5 separate regions of the Homo sapiens genome follow, and regions 2, 3, 4 and 5 are each linked to region 1. The links are contacts of gene promoters, found by promoter capture Hi-C in blood cells and fetal thymus (Javierre and others, 2016). All regions are on one chromosome and are shown on one strand. The core of a region is centred on a gene start or on the middle of the fragment in contact, and the rest is flanking DNA. Distances in the headings are between cores, read along the strand shown. Region 1 holds the start of STK35 (serine/threonine kinase 35). Region 2 holds the start of SDCBP2 (syndecan binding protein 2). Region 3 holds the start of FKBP1A (FKBP prolyl isomerase 1A). Region 4 holds the start of NSFL1C (NSFL1 cofactor). Region 5 holds the start of SIRPB2 (signal regulatory protein beta 2).

Region 1 (2,861 bases), core at 91-2,590:
TTAGCAAAATTTAAATATGGATGGAGTGTATTAAATAAAACAATTGTATCATTGTTAAAATTCCTGATTTTTGACCACTGTACTGAGATTATGCCAGATAATGTCTTTTTTTTAAGGAAACACACACATATATTTAGGATAAAGGAGTTTGATGTTGGAAACTCTAAAATGATGTAGTAAAAAAGAATATATACATTATATATGTGTGTGTGTGAATATCTATATACCGTATACTGATTTCCTTTCTTTTGGGGTATATACCATATAGATATCCACACACAATATGTATTTGTGTGTATATATACACATACACGAGAGGATATGGATATGCAGCAAAATATAACAATTTGTTATTCTAGTGGAAAAGTATATGATCTTTACGATTCTTGAAATTTATGTGTAAATTTGAAATTTAATCACAAAAAAGTTAAGAGGTTTTCAGCGACCAAATACATTATAAGAAATGGCCTGTATCCAGTGAGCACTCTTTAGCTCATTCTTTTTCTCCATCACACTTACCACTGGCAAAAATTATCCTGTGCATTTATTTAATAATACTTAACATTGTGTGCAAGGCTGTCCTAAGTGCTTTACCTGTATAACCTCTGTGGATCTTCTTACAGGTAAGGAACAAATACACAAGAAGGTTGACTAACTTGCCCAAGGCCACCCATGTGGTTTGTCTCCTGCAGTGGCACAGAACCTCAACCAAGGCAGAAACTGCCTTGTCTATTGCTCTTTCCCCAGCGACTTGGAATGGTGCCTAGCACATTACGGGTGTTCAATAAACATCTGTAGATTCAGTTAACAAACACTGGGCACCCACTAGGCCTACACTGGAATACAAAATACAGAACAAAATATTCAAAAATCTGTGCCTAAATGGGAGCTTTGGGTACTAACAGCCCCACACCCAATTAGCCTCCATCTAGGTATTTCATTTGGGTCTATCATTCCTGGGAATTAAAGCCCATTCTATCCATTTTGCAGAGGATCATTAGATAAACGGATGCTCAGGGTGGGTCAATGATTTGCACAAGATCACTGGGCTGGTAGAAGGGAAGGTCGGGATTCCAACCCAGTCCCTGAGGTTCCCAGGACAGAGCTATGAATCAAACGACCAAGACAATCACCCAGTCAGTATTTATTAGGCGCCTACTGCGGACGGTTGGTCTTCACGCAGATCAGGCGAGAAGGGATAGTGATGCGCGGGCCGCTGCGGAGACCCGGAGCCCGCCGCGGATCACGGGAATTTCGCGCCTATTTTTTGTTGGCTGGGTGTTCTCGCCAGTGATTGGGTCCCGGCAAGGCGTGCCGGTGCGCTCGGCTGCGGCTGCTCCGTCGACCTTTGCAGGACCGGGCGGTGCAGGGCTCACTCGGCTGGCGTCCCGGGGGATGGGCCACCAGGAGTCTCCGCTGGCCCGGGCGCCGGCGGGAGGTGCAGCTTATGTAAAGAGGTTATGTAAAGGGCTCAGCTGGCGCGAACACGTGGAAAGCCACGGGAGCCTAGGAGCCCAGGCTTCCCCAGCGAGCGCCGCGGCAGCAGAAGGATCCGCTACACGCCGGGCTCGGGCCGCCACCTCCCGCGCTGCTCGGTCCCGGAGGCAGCCCGGGCCCGGAGCGGACCATCCCCAGGCAGGGGCTCCAGGGGGGAAACGGGCCGCCCGGAAGTGGAGGTGCGCGGGCCAGGTAAGGGCGCCGTTGGAGGACTGAAGGCCAGCGCCGAGGCTGGAGTTACTGCCACTGCCTCCGCGCTTGGGAAGGGAAATCGGGTCCTCGGCCAGTCGCACTCCGAGAAGCCGAACTTTTCAGCCAATCCCTTCTACCCGTCGCCCTCGGGGACTTGGGTCGGTCCGCTGGGCTCCGCTAGGGCTTAATTCAATGGACTGTTTACACCCGGGCGAACACAAGGCGGGGCGCGGGGAGGAGCGTCACAGAGGGGGCCAAGCAAAGAAAAATATTTCCGCCGGCCAAATCGCGTCTCTAAGCGGTTTTCAGAAGGCGTGAAGCTTGCTGGCTCTTCTTTTTCCTATCGCTACATGACAAGCTAACAGAGAGAGCGGAGAGTTTGTGCTTTTCTTTCCGGTTCCCCCTCTGAGCTGCTGCCCAGTGGTTCGGTCTTTCCCGCTTTCCCCTCCCCTCCCCCGTTCAATCAGCGGCGGTGGCTTCCGTCTTAAAGGGGCCGCGGCGGCCGGGGGAGGAGGAGGTGGGACGCCCCGCGGCCTACGCTCCTGGCCTCCCCGCCTTGGCCTGGCCGTTTAACCGATTCTTTCGCCCGCAGGTCACAATCCAAGGTCCGGCTCCTCCGCGTCCCAGGGCCGGACGGAGGGATGAGGCAGGGGGGGCCCGGGCAGCGCCGTTGCTGCTCCCCCCGCCGCCCGCAGCCATGGAAACGGGGAAGGACGGCGCCCGCAGAGGTACACAAAGCCCGGAGCGGAAAAGGCGAAGCCCAGTGCCGCGGGCGCCCAGCACGAAGCTGAGGCCGGCGGCGGCGGCCCGGGCCATGGATCCGGTGGCGGCCGAGGCCCCGGGCGAGGCCTTCCTGGCGCGGCGACGGCCTGAGGGCGGTGGCGGGTCCGCGCGGCCGCGTTACAGCCTGTTGGCGGAGATCGGGCGCGGCAGCTACGGCGTGGTTTATGAGGCAGTGGCCGGGCGCAGCGGGGCCCGGGTGGCGGTCAAGAAGATCCGCTGCGACGCCCCCGAGAACGTGGAGCTGGCGCTGGCTGAATTCTGGGCCCTCACCAGCCTCAAGCGGCGCCACCAGAACGTCGTGCAGTTTGAGGAGTGCGTCCTGCAGCGCAATGGGTTAGCCCAGCGCATGAGTCACGGCAACAAGAGCTCGCAGCTTTACCTGCGCCTGG
Region 2 (2,861 bases), core at 102-2,601, 770 kb before region 1:
CATAATAGGCATTCAGTAAAAGTTAGCTGTTTATTCATTGTTTCAGCGCTTACTTACTCAGCACCTGCTAAGTCTGAGTACTGTTCTAGGTATCAGCAGTGAAGGAAAGAAGACTTGGTCCCCAAATGTACTTTCTTTGGGGGAAGAGCTGGATAAATAGGCTTTGTGACTCTGTGTGCTGTGTTAGATGGTGGGAGGCACTGGAGAGAAAGAGCAGGACGGAGGGTCATGTCAGGAGGTTCAGAAGCCTTGCTGGCTGGGTGGGGTGACATTTGAGGAAAGGCCTAATGGGGTGGGCACGGCCATTGCAGAGCCTCTCAGGTGGGAGTTGGTGTTGTGTTTAGAGGACATCTGCCAGTGAGAAGCCAGTTGTGCAGAGAGGGAGTAAGGAGGAGTAGTGGGGAGGAAGCTGGAGAAGTGAGAGGGGCCAGATCCTGGAGGGCCTGGAGGTCATGGTGAGGACTTTGGCATTTACTGTAGTGAGATGGGAGCCACTGGGGGATTTGTAGCAGCAGAGTGCCAAGGTCCAAGGGTTATTTTGACAGGCCTCCTCTGGCTGATGTTTGGAGGATGGGCTACAGGGCAGGAGTGGGAGCAGGAGCCCAGGTGGGAAGTGATGGTGGTGGAATTGTCATGAGCTTGGGCCACTGTACGTGAAGCTGCCTGTCCAGTGCTCGCCCAGCCCATACCAGGCTCGTTTTCTGCCCCATTTTCTGAGACCCTGCTGAGGAGGGCATGCACTGGCTCCTGTGTCCAGTATGTCCTTCCATTCTCCTGACTTTGTGGGCTATTTTCAGTCTCCAGATGAAGAAACCAGTTCTTAGAAAGGTGAAGCCCCTGGCGCAGTTCCCCAGCAGGTGTTTCAGTGCTGTGGCAGGAAGGTTTTTTGATAGAAACAGCCTCAGGCCAGAGAAGTCGGCCTGAGCTGTGGATTCCTTGGGAGAAATGGGCTTTTTGCCTGCCTGCAGCCTCTGGTTTCGGCTGGAATTGGCCTTTCAAGGAGCAAAGTGTGGATCTCATCTCCTTGAGCACAGTCATGGGCAGTCAGAAGGCATCGGGGGCCCTCATGATGTCTGGGTGAAGAAAATCACTCAGCCCTTAATCAAACTTGGTCCAGGGCTGGGATCAGAAGAAGAAACCCCACTTCACACTTGACTGCTTGGAGTGAAGCACTTCGAAAGGAAGCTGCCTGGGAAGTCCCAGAAGGGAAGGGGCAGGGAGGGAAGGGGACAGGGTGAGAGCAGGTCTCACTCATCCCAATCCCAGCCAGGATTGGGTCAGGGCCCCCAGCGCTTACCTGCAGGCAAGGTGCTGCTCCACGACCTTCTCCAGCTGCTGCCGCTGCTGAATCTGTTTCCCTCCCTGAAACGTAGCCCTGTCTCTCAGCTGGCTTCCTGATCTGGGAAGGGTGGTGCCTGTCCCCTGTTCAGCTGACTCACCTTGGACTGGGATGGGCACAGGTGAGGGCTGTGGCTGGGTAAACAAGGCAGGTTGCCAGCCCAGAGGAGGCCTTTGGCCTTAGTCTGGATTTGGAGGTGGGATTAAGGCCCTCACAGCTGCTGTTCAGACGGTTATGAACCAAGACTTCTTGGCCTTTTCTTAAATAGCTCTAAATTTGGGTTGGACACCTAGTCCTGCTGATCGAGGCAGTTGGCTAGAGGGCGGTTTGTGATAGGTATCTAGGGGTCTAGGCCAGGATATTAAAAAGTGGTCATATCCTGTGACCCAGCATTTCTTCTAGGAATTTGTTACAGTGGAGTCACAGGGCCCATCCATCACTGCTGCTTCTAGTAAGGAAAATGTAGAAATCCCAAATGCCCATCTCTGTGGTCTGCTTGAATAAATCATTGTCTGTGGAAGATCACAGAGCTATTAAAGTCACTTAAGGAAGAAGGTATGAGGAAACATTTCTGAGATTCTAGTGAGATGTTGAAAAATCAATATTGTGAATCTCTTCTTGCATTTTGTTTTCATTTTTTGTAAAGTGGATGTGCGTTGAAAGCAGTCTAGGAGGACATACGCTAAAATGCTGAGTATCTCTGAATGGCAGCATTGAGGGTGAGGTTTTCAGTTTGTACTTTTGTGTGTTCCAAGGTGGTTTTTTTTTTTTTAAGTTAGCTTTTGCTCTGAATGCTCATGACTTTTGTAAGGGGGAAGCAATTAAGTTTGATTATTTTAATGGGAATTTAGAGTGGTTGTCTCTTGGGAGCAGACCTAAGGAGCTGTGTGCTGAGGTGGAGATTTTTTTTTTTATGGCACATTTTTGGTGTCTTAAATTTTGAAAAGTTTAAATGTACTACTTATTCCAAAAATAATTATATAAATTTGAACAGAAAAGGAGGAAGAATTTAGTTTAGATCCTGGTGGGTTTGGTTGGGTGAGGGTGCCTGTCGCACTGGGTGCCTGGGGAGGGACGAGGGACTCGTGTGCTGGGCAGTCCCATGAGGATTGACGCTGTACACACTCAGGGTGTGTCAGTATCTGGGCTGCTTCCTGGGCCAGGCAGGCCTACGTCACAGTTCCCATGACCCACCTGGCAGAGTTGCACTAGCCTTGGGTGTCAGATCTTGTGCCTGCCAATGAAGAGCTTACAGCCCAGAGTCCCACACAGGAAACACACAATAGGAATAATAACAAGAAAGACATTTGCCACTAATTCAGCACTTACTCCCAGAGAGCACAGAGATTCTACCCCTGGCACTTTAAAGGCATTATCTCAATGGCTTCTCATGCCATCCCTGCAGAGTAGGTGTGACTCACACCATTCCTCCAGGTGGGGACACTGAGGCACAGAGGCAAAGTTTCTCTCTCAAGTTAGCTGGAAAGTGGGCCAAGTTCATGTCTTCTCTTCTATGGGACAT
Region 3 (2,861 bases), core at 115-2,614, 710 kb before region 1:
TCGTGAGCAACTTGGCCAGAACTGCCCACAGCCTACTACCCAGGAGGAGGAAGAGGAGGAGAGGGAGTGGGAAAAAAAGAGGGAGGAGGAGGGGGAACAGAGGAAAGGGTGGGAAGGTTGAGAAAGGGGAAGGAGGAGGGGGAGGGAAGGTTATTCGTATCAACAACTGTGGCTACACCAATCACTGCCACCCTTGTGGGACCCACAGCCACTGAGTCTCCGCCAACTCAGCTCTCCCCCTCCCCCGCCCCCATACAAACCAGGACAAGCTTGTAAGGAGAAGGAGTAAGACAGCCCCAAGGCACACGACTCTGATGTCTGAATTCTGGCTGGGGAGGGGGAGGTGTCTAAAATTTCCTTTGGCTTGTATTATCACTATGTATTAGCCTCCAGATGCTTATCTTTAAAATGAGGACGAGAAAAGTCTCTACTTCTAGAAGAGCTGGGGGACTAAATTACACGTGCAGCTTTCGGTCAGCCTGAGCCAGCGCTGTCACTGAGCCTTGGATTTGTAAGTGGCTCAAAAGTAAAAAGACGGAAGAAGGCCGTGCAGCTCTACTTCCCCCAAGGCCAGGAAGGGCCAAAGCAATGACTTAGGAAGTGGGATGTTTCCCCACCCTAGGCAAAGGGGCGAATTCCGAGTTCCCCGGAGGAAGCAGCAGCTCTGCAGACTCGGAATTACCTCGTCCTCATCTCCAGTGAAGGGAGGGATGGAAGTGGGGGCAGGGGCACAGAAATGGTACAAATCCTTCCTAATGGTCCCTGGCCAGAGCTCTGCCCATTCCTGAAAGTGTGACCTTGGGAAAGTGAGACCTTGGGAAAGTGACTTCGCCTCGCCAAGCCTCAGTTTCCTCATCTGTGCAGCGGGCATAAGGGCAGCATCTAAGGTGCAGAAATGCTTCTGACGGGTCAGATAACACCTAGCCCGCAGCCGACGCTCACAGCCGCCGATTCAGACCCGCCCGGGTTCCGCAAGCCCCAGGCTGCCCCTGAGCCACCGCCCAGGCCTCAGCCTCGGGCCATGCGGACCTCGCCGCCGCCACGCCCCGGACCCCAGGCCCCGGGCCCCCAGGCCTCGACGGCCAGCCGCACCCGGGCTGCGGACTGCGGCCCGGGCCCCCTCCCCGCTGGGCCCCCGACTCACCGGTGTAGTGCACCACGCAGGTCTGGCCGCGCTTGGGGAAGGTGCGCCCTGAGGAGACAGAGACGGGCATGCTGAGCCGATGCGCGCGGCGGCAGAGGTACTCCGAGCCGCCGCGCGCCACTACTCACCGTCTCCTGGGGAGATGGTTTCCACCTGCACTCCCATGGCGGCGGCGGACGCTGAGCGGGCGGGCGGCGCGACGGGCGGCGTGGACCAACAGCGACCTGGCGGCGGTTCCACGGCTCTGCCTAGTACCTCGGCGCGTCGCCTGCGCACGCGCACGCCCCCTCACGCCCAGCCCTGCGTGCGCGCCCCACACGGCGCGCGACGTCCCGGAAACCCAGGCCTCCGGAAGAGGGACCGGAAGCCCAGAAGCCCCGAGACCTCCGGAAGCCCGGAGGCCTCCGGATACAGCTGTGTTTGCCGGGTGACTTGCTTCGTTCTCCTGCCCTTCCTCTGTGCTTCCAGCCGGTTAAGCATCTCCCTGCCCAAAGAATGGGAGTAATAATAGGGGGTCCGCCAGTCACTGACTGGGTGACTGTCATCAGGTTTCCACTTAGAAGCACACAGTTACTCATCCTGGGAAGAGCATGGTTCTGAGAAGACAGCGCACAGGTGGTGGTAGTATGTTAGTATTTTATAAGTGGCTCAAGGTTGTAAGTTCTGCTTTTCTTCACTGGAGGAGGAGTTGTCCAAATTCATTCACTCACCCATAGCTTACATGCATACATTCTTATTGAGCATGTGAAAGTTGATAATACGAATTGGGTCACTCTTCTTATGCCCAACGGAATCAGAATCCAGGGGCCAGGGGAAAAGCACTGGAGGCACGCAGCGCCTGCTCCAAGAACCAATATTTCCACTAACTGCTGCGGAAATGGCCTGCTGTCCCCCTGAGACCAGATTCAGCTAGTAACTGCTGAAACAACCCGCCATAACCTAATACTAGTTTTACTTACCACTGTCAGTCACCAATCAGAGCTTGCCAGCTCCCTGAAACTTTACTAGTGCCAATGCATTTCCCTTTCTAATAAAACGCCCAGCCTTCTCTTTGTTTTTCGGACATACCAAAGACCACCAGATCTGTGTGTATGCTCCGAGTTGCGATTCTCGCTTCCCCAAATAAAACATTACATTTAGAGATTCATCTCCATATTTTATTTTGACTTTGACAAGCACCTTCTGTATGTCATGTACTGTGCTAGGTGCTGAGGATACAGCGGTGAAGGAGTCAGACTTAGTCCCTGACCTCACAGAATCTACGTATGATGTGGGAGAGATAATCAAATAACCTGTTTAAGTAAAAAAAGATACGGAATAAATGTAAAGTTTCAAATCTGTAATATTATGAGACAGTAATACATGCTGTGAGGGGCGTGTTAATATAACAGAGATGCCTCACTTAGTCTGGAATGTGGTCAGATATTTCCCTGAGTTAGCCAGGTTTAGCCAGGTTTAGCCAAGGTTAGAAGGCCAATTGTGTGTATGTGTTGGGGTAAGGGGAGGCAGAAGGAGCAGTACCTGCAGAGGCACTGTAACGCAAGAGAACACTGTGACATGGTCTAGGACATAAGGAGGCACATGTGACTAATCTTTCTCTGATCTGTGTGTGTGTGTGCTTCTGCATTAGTCGATTCTCACACTGCTATAAAGAATACCTGAGGCTGGGCACGGTGGCTCATGCCTGTAATCCCAGCACTTTGGGAAGCTGAGGCGG
Region 4 (2,861 bases), core at 94-2,593, 630 kb before region 1:
GCCCAGCATAGGGGCTTCCCATTGTGTCTAGGTGTGATCTAGGTGTGATGCTTTACCGAATTCTTATGTTTGGGGAGTAATTTACGTTTGGCAGCAGACTCAGTTCAAATTCCAACCCCGCTACTTACTGGCTATGTGACCCTGAGCAAATTCTTTGCCCTCTGTGCTTCCAATTCCTCATCCATAAAATGGGTCTAGTCTTTACCTCATAGTGTTGCTAGGATCCAACGAATCATATTATGTAAAGTGCTTGGCACATGGTGGTTTAAAGCTTGGGCTCTGTCTGCTTGCAATCAGACAGAACTGGGTTCCACTTCTACCTCTTCTGCCTGGTAGCTAGTGAGGCCTTGAGCAAGTTACTTAACCTCTTTAATCTCAGCTGCAAAATGCGAAGGTTAAATGACAAAAGACATGTAAAGCAGTCAGAACAGCGCTTGGCTCATGGTAGGTACTCAATAAATATTAGTCATCACCGTCATCATCTACCTAAGACGAAGCTGGCCAAGAATATTTATGCAATTCTTTCTACAGTTAATTACCGAATGCTTATTATGTGCCAGGCATTGTTCCAGGCACTGGGAATTCATCAGTGTACAAAAATCCCTGCCTCGTGAAGCTTAAGTCTTCTTAGCAAGTATTTAGTGAATACTCAGTACGTGCCAATGAACTACACAGCAATTTCCACGAGACTCCCATTTTACAGATAAGTTAACTACGCAAGGTGAAGAAGCTCCAACCTTGCGCCACCACCCCAGAGGTATTCTCCCAGCAATTAGGAAGGCTGGGCGGCGGTCAACTCCCGGGCTGGACTTCGGAAGTGGAAATGAGCGGCCACCTAGTCCCGAGTGGGGCTTCACCCAAGAGCTGCTCACTCGGACCAGCCCGGCCTCCAGCAGATACTCGGCGCGGCAGCCACGCCCCCAGGCGCTCCCTCTCCTCGCCGGCTGCCGCAGCGCCCGAAGTCTCGCTGACGCCGCAAGCGGGCGAGGCAGGGTGAAACTGGCACGGCAGAACTGGCTGGGGCTGGCCCGCGTTCCCCCACTCCCAAGCCGAGCAGGCGACGCGTGACAAGCGGTCCCGGGACCATGAGGCCTGGGTCGGGCCGCGGTAGAGCGGGGATGACTGTGCGCTTCGGCCGCCGCGGGCTTAAGGCACCAGGCGCCCGCTCCCAGCAGTCCCCGGCCCACCCGACACAGCCCGCCGCGCGGCGCTACCTGCAAGTCCCAGCCGGCCGACTCGAGAAAGAAGCGGGCCCGGTCCTCCTCGGCGCCCGTCACCGCCACGAACTCCCTCAGCGCCTCCTGTCGCTCCGCCGCCATCTTCGCCCCGTGCGCCTTCCAAAGCGCTCCGGCGGCCGCCGCACAGGCCCAGCCCCGCTGCCGCGTTCCGCTTGCCGGTCGACGAGGCCCAGCCGATGAGGGCCCAGCAGCTGGGAGCCCGCCCGCAGCCCCGCCCCACGCGGTGCCTCACGCAAAGCCCTCCGTGCGGGAAGCCCCGCCGCTCCGCGCCCTCTGGCGACCGCGGCGCGAACCGCAGCCTAACGGCGGGGGTGGGAGCCCGAAGGATGAGAGGCGGGGCGGGTCTTACATACACCTGTGGGCTGAAGGCTCCCTGCAGGAGTCAGATTCCCAGTTATTCATTGACGCAGCCCTCATTTCATTAATTGTGCATTCGTTCATTCACTTACTTGTCAAGCATTTACTGAGAGCTATCAATGGCCCGACGTTTTTCTAGGGCTGTGGATATGGCAGGGAGCAAAACAAAGTCCCTGCTCCCATGCTTCTTACATTCTAGGGGTAAAAATTCAGACCTTGAACAGGCTAGGCCTCCGCTCACAACACGTCCATGCCTCGTTATCTCGCCCCGCATAAAAGACAGTCTCATGGCCTGCCTGCAGGACCCATGAGAGATGGGCCAGTTCCTCCCTCTCATCAAGGGATCCGCTAGCTTCCTCTGCTCCAGGCGCCTTGCCCTCCTTGCTGTTCCTGGAACTTGCCAGTTATCTTGCATTTGCCTCAGGGCCGTTGCATTAGCTGCTTCTGTGCCTGGAGCACCTTTCCCTTACCGATGGGCAAGGCGCTCTCCCCGCTTTCTTTGGGCCTCTGCTCCAAGGCCACTTTCTTAGGCACAATCCTGTCTTCTGGGTCCTCAGCTTCTTTGCCCTCTTGCCTCTCCAAAGAGGAACTTACTTGTTCAGCTTACTTGTTCTTTGTTCTCTATTTTCAAAGCCTAACTTCCTTGTTCTTTGTACCTCCTTACCCCTAGTTACGGTAAACAACCTTCCCGCGGGTCCTAATCTATAACTCACATCTGTTCCCTTGGATACCCTCGCTACAATTGCCATTCCCGCGGAAACTCTTCTTCCTGCCGAAACCGCTTGCCCTACCACTGTAGCCCACATTTCTGCTCCATTTGAACTAGCCAATCGGGATTAGCTTAGATTGCGCAGTCCAGCCCCAGCCAATGGGAACAGGACACAGAAGCAGCGACTAACCGCATTAGGGATAAAAACCCCTTCTCTCTTTTGTTCGGTGTGCTTTCCTGAAGACCAGATGTGTGAGTGGCACCCTTCTGCAGAAGTAAATTGGCTTTGCTGAAAAATCTTTTATTTCAGTGCTGGTTTTCCTTGAGACTTCGAGCTTTAATTTCCAACACCACCGTGGGACACTCTTCCCTTCCTCTTCCTCTGTCGGCCCCTGCTCATTCTTCAGCTCTCAGTTCAGGTGTCCCTTTCTCAAGGAGACCTTGAGAAGGTGCCCAGGCTTAGTCAAAACCCCTCTTAATCAGGTTATGAACAGCACAAAGTCCAGTCTTCCCTCAATTGACACAATAGTTGCTTTCCTGGAAAATTCGGTGTCTTA
Region 5 (2,861 bases), core at 229-2,728, 610 kb before region 1:
GGAGGCTCTGTGCCACTATATAGAGGGCACACCCAAGAACCAGCCCTGACTCAGCTTGAGATGCAGCTGGACTCAAACATTCCAACTGACTGGTTTAAGCAACTTCTCTTATTTTCCATCTATTCTATTGCAACAATCATTGGGAATATTTTTTATTCTGAGTAGTTTAGATTTCTGATTTCCTAGTCTAGTGCCTAAAACATAGCAGACACTCAAAAGTACCTGTGGAATGAGACCTAGCAATTATGATTCACATCTTAGAATTGAGGAAATCAGCTTAGAGAATTGAAGTGGTGTCTTGAGTCATACGGCCAATGAGTAAGGGAGCACCTAGGTCCGACCCCACACCTGGGTTCTGCCAGGATCTCTCCTGGGGATGGCCACCCCGGAGGACCAAAGATGTCATGGACAGAATCTAGATCTCAGTAGAGCCTGGAGCAGAGGCCCAGATGGGCAGGAGATGGAATGAGCCCACTGAGAGCCAAGTATCCCTGCCTGGTAGATCAGAGAGTTCTGGACTCAGAGGCTGAGCTATATATTCAGGGGTCTCAAGACTCTGGAGCTAACCTGGCCTGCCCCTGAGTTAGAGGAAACATGGGAATGATAATAATAATCGCCAAGAGTTATCAAATCTTTGTTATGCCAGGCACTTATGGGTATTATCTTGTTAAATTCTCCTAAGAAAGTCCCAAGGTGGGTCCTATTTTTAGCTCCATTTTACAGTTGGAAAAACTGAGGCTCAGAAAGAAATTACTTAAACTGGTTAGTGGTGAGGTTTGAGCCTACTGCGTCTTAAGCTGAGCCAGGGCTGGTTCATGGCTGTGCCATCTATGTAGTCGCACAGGGCCCTGTGCTTAGAAGGAGCCCATGCTTGGTTTACTGCTCTGCTGTGTTGCTCAATACTTTTTGAACAAAAGACCGCAGTTTTCATTTTGCAGTGGGTCTCATAAACTATGCAGCCGGCCCAGGGCTGAGCCTCACCACTTTTCTATTTAATACTCACAGTAGCCCTAGAGAAAGGTCCCATGAGCGTCCCTGTTTTGTAGAAGAGGCTCCTGGGGCTAAAAGAGCTGCAGCATCTGACGTGGGCATAGGAGCAATCAAGCTGGAAGCCAGTGGGTGTGAGCGCAGAGCCTGGGAGCTTATCACTTCACTACGCTGCTTCTTGGGACACTGGGGGTGCCCTCTGCCGGAGTCAGGCAAATTTTCAGTGGACCCCTCTTTACTCTATCTTCATGGGGTCAAGCTTCTTCAGGCATGGCAGAGCACTTAGTGCCCCTCTAGGGACTGACCAGCCGGGGGTGGACCCTGTTCTATCCTAGACCCCACTTACCTGAGGGGACAAGGACCAGTGCCAGCAGCAGGAAGCAGGGAGGCAAGTGGGCCAGGCAGGTGGGGGCCGACATCGTGGAGCACATGGCATCTTCTGTGGTCCCCAAGACTTGGGGCTCCTCTGCTCTCTTGTGAGTGTTGGAGTCTGAGGCGGGGCCCGTGGACAAGGCAGTTTCTGCGTCTCTTGGCCACAGCTGCTTGGGGAAGTGTTTTCATTGCAGCAACACAAGGCTGTTGGTGCAATAGGAAGGAGCCCGGTCAAAGGGTTTCCTGCTTTTGTGTCTGGGCTGTGATTCCTGTAGTCACTGTGCTAAAACCTTGCCATAGGCTCCATCCTAGGTGCCCGGGAGGGAGGTGGGCACTGAGGTCATAGGACGCACTCCAGAATCGGGTGGAATTTGGAGCAAACATTGGATCTTCCTCTTCTTGGCTGTGCAAGATTTCAAAGTCACTTCCCATTTCTGAGCCTTTTGTTTCTTCATCTGCAGCGTAGGAACAACGGCAGTTCCCTCCTCAGAACAGTTTTGGTAAGATTATGAGAAATAATGTGAGGGCACAGAACAATGTAAATGCTAAACATATTAACCATTATTATTCATGATGTGCAGAAAGTAGAGGAGGTGACATTGCTTAAGAAGAAGGATTTATTATAAAGCAAGCCCCATGGGGGCCTCCTTTTAGCACTGCAGGGAGGGTACAGGCCTAATTCCTAAAAGTATAATCATGTGTAACTCTCTCAGCCTCTGTTTCCTGGGGTCCAAGTGAAACATACTCAGATTGTGCAAACATTTGCGTTTGTGGCATCTTTGTTTCCTGTAAGTGATCTGAACTTCCTCAGGAGCCTCCTGGTGCTGGCTATCAAGAAGGAAAAGCTTAATCTTGCCAATTCATGCAATCCAGGCAATCTCTTTAGCCACACTGTCTGGGTTCAAATCTTGGCTTTACTCAGTCTGGCTGTGTGACCTTAGGACAATCATTTGACCACTTTATGCCTCGGTTTCCTCATCTGTAAAACAGGAATAAAAATGTGGTAGCATGTGTGGGGTGGAGTAAGCACTCTATAGGCTTTCACCATTGTCTTTTAGGTTAACTCAGTCTTTTAATTAACTCAGGGAAAAGTACAAGAACAACTCAGCCTTTCATTATTTCACTTCCTCCCTCATGCTTCAGAAGGTTCTGGGTGCAGAGGAAGCTGAAGATTCTCCAGCAACAGGGTGGCAGGCCTTGGATCTGAGTATGTCCCCTGGGTCCCAGAGGTCTGGTGTCTACTATGAGGAGGTTAGTCTGGCCTGGTCCCCAAGGACTTTGCACTGGGTCTGTGACTGGTCTTTTCTAGACTTTTGAGGCCTTGCATTGATACCCCTGCTCAATTCCATTACTCCCTCTACTTGTTCTCCTGTCAATGAGATCTATATAGTGAAACTTCTTTGAAAGGGCCACAAGCCTAGATGATTCCACCAGACCCTCAGTACTTTCCATGTCATTCTTACACGGGAATTTCTGAATCACCTGCTCATCTATGCAGATTT

Evidence for each region. The method cuts DNA at HindIII sites, captures the fragments that hold promoters and counts their contacts. A CHiCAGO score of 5 or more calls a contact.
Region 2: a contact is called between the fragment with the promoter of SDCBP2 here and the fragment with the promoter of STK35 in region 1, in 4 of 17 cell types (total CD8 T cells, monocytes, naive CD8 T cells and 1 more). The highest score is 6.7, in total CD8 T cells.
Region 3: a contact is called between the fragment with the promoter of FKBP1A here and the fragment with the promoter of STK35 in region 1, in 3 of 17 cell types (neutrophils, monocytes and fetal thymus). The highest score is 10.4, in neutrophils.
Region 4: a contact is called between the fragment with the promoter of NSFL1C here and the fragment with the promoter of STK35 in region 1, in 1 of 17 cell types (neutrophils). The highest score is 8.0, in neutrophils.
Region 5: a contact is called between the fragment with the promoter of SIRPB2 here and the fragment with the promoter of STK35 in region 1, in 2 of 17 cell types (monocytes and M2 macrophages). The highest score is 8.5, in monocytes.

Annotation. Positions count from the first base shown.
Region 1 is chr20:2,100,487-2,103,347 of GRCh38, forward strand. STK35 (serine/threonine kinase 35) reads left to right here and starts at 1,341. Exons shown (of 4, transcript NM_080836.4): 1 at 1,341-1,689; 2 at 2,282-2,861. The coding sequence starts at 1,396. RefSeq lists silencers at 1,227-1,416, 1,517-1,806, 1,817-1,866, 2,157-2,686, 2,707-2,756 and an enhancer at 2,102-2,861. The HindIII fragment of the contact is 3,640 bases long and covers 1-2,007 here.
Region 2 is chr20:1,327,788-1,330,648 of GRCh38, forward strand. It overlaps SDCBP2 (syndecan binding protein 2), which reads right to left and starts at 1,352. Exons shown (of 9, transcript NM_080489.5): 1 at 1,298-1,352. All of the region lies in intron 2 of FKBP1A-SDCBP2 (FKBP1A-SDCBP2 readthrough (NMD candidate)), which reads right to left. The region is part of intron 1 of SDCBP2-AS1 (SDCBP2 antisense RNA 1); the gene reads left to right. The HindIII fragment of the contact is 15,880 bases long and covers 1-2,861 here.
Region 3 is chr20:1,391,690-1,394,550 of GRCh38, forward strand. FKBP1A (FKBP prolyl isomerase 1A) reads right to left here and starts at 1,365. Exons shown (of 5, transcript NM_000801.5): 1 at 1,273-1,365; 2 at 1,145-1,192. The coding sequence starts at 1,309. It overlaps FKBP1A-SDCBP2 (FKBP1A-SDCBP2 readthrough (NMD candidate)), which reads right to left and starts at 1,483. Exons shown (of 10, transcript NR_037661.1): 1 at 1,273-1,483; 2 at 1,145-1,192. It overlaps MIR6869 (microRNA 6869), which reads right to left and starts at 1,272; the gene lies at 1,211-1,272. RefSeq lists an enhancer at 757-1,257 and silencers at 992-1,061, 1,072-1,171, 1,372-1,421. The HindIII fragment of the contact is 4,016 bases long and covers 268-2,861 here.
Region 4 is chr20:1,465,506-1,468,366 of GRCh38, forward strand. NSFL1C (NSFL1 cofactor) reads right to left here and starts at 1,344. Exons shown (of 9, transcript NM_016143.5): 1 at 1,215-1,344. The coding sequence starts at 1,319. RefSeq lists an enhancer at 573-1,074 and a silencer at 1,369-1,638. The HindIII fragment of the contact is 14,006 bases long and covers 615-2,861 here.
Region 5 is chr20:1,489,942-1,492,802 of GRCh38, forward strand. SIRPB2 (signal regulatory protein beta 2) reads right to left here and starts at 1,479. Exons shown (of 5, transcript NM_001122962.2): 1 at 1,334-1,479. The coding sequence starts at 1,418. The HindIII fragment of the contact is 958 bases long and covers 1,245-2,202 here.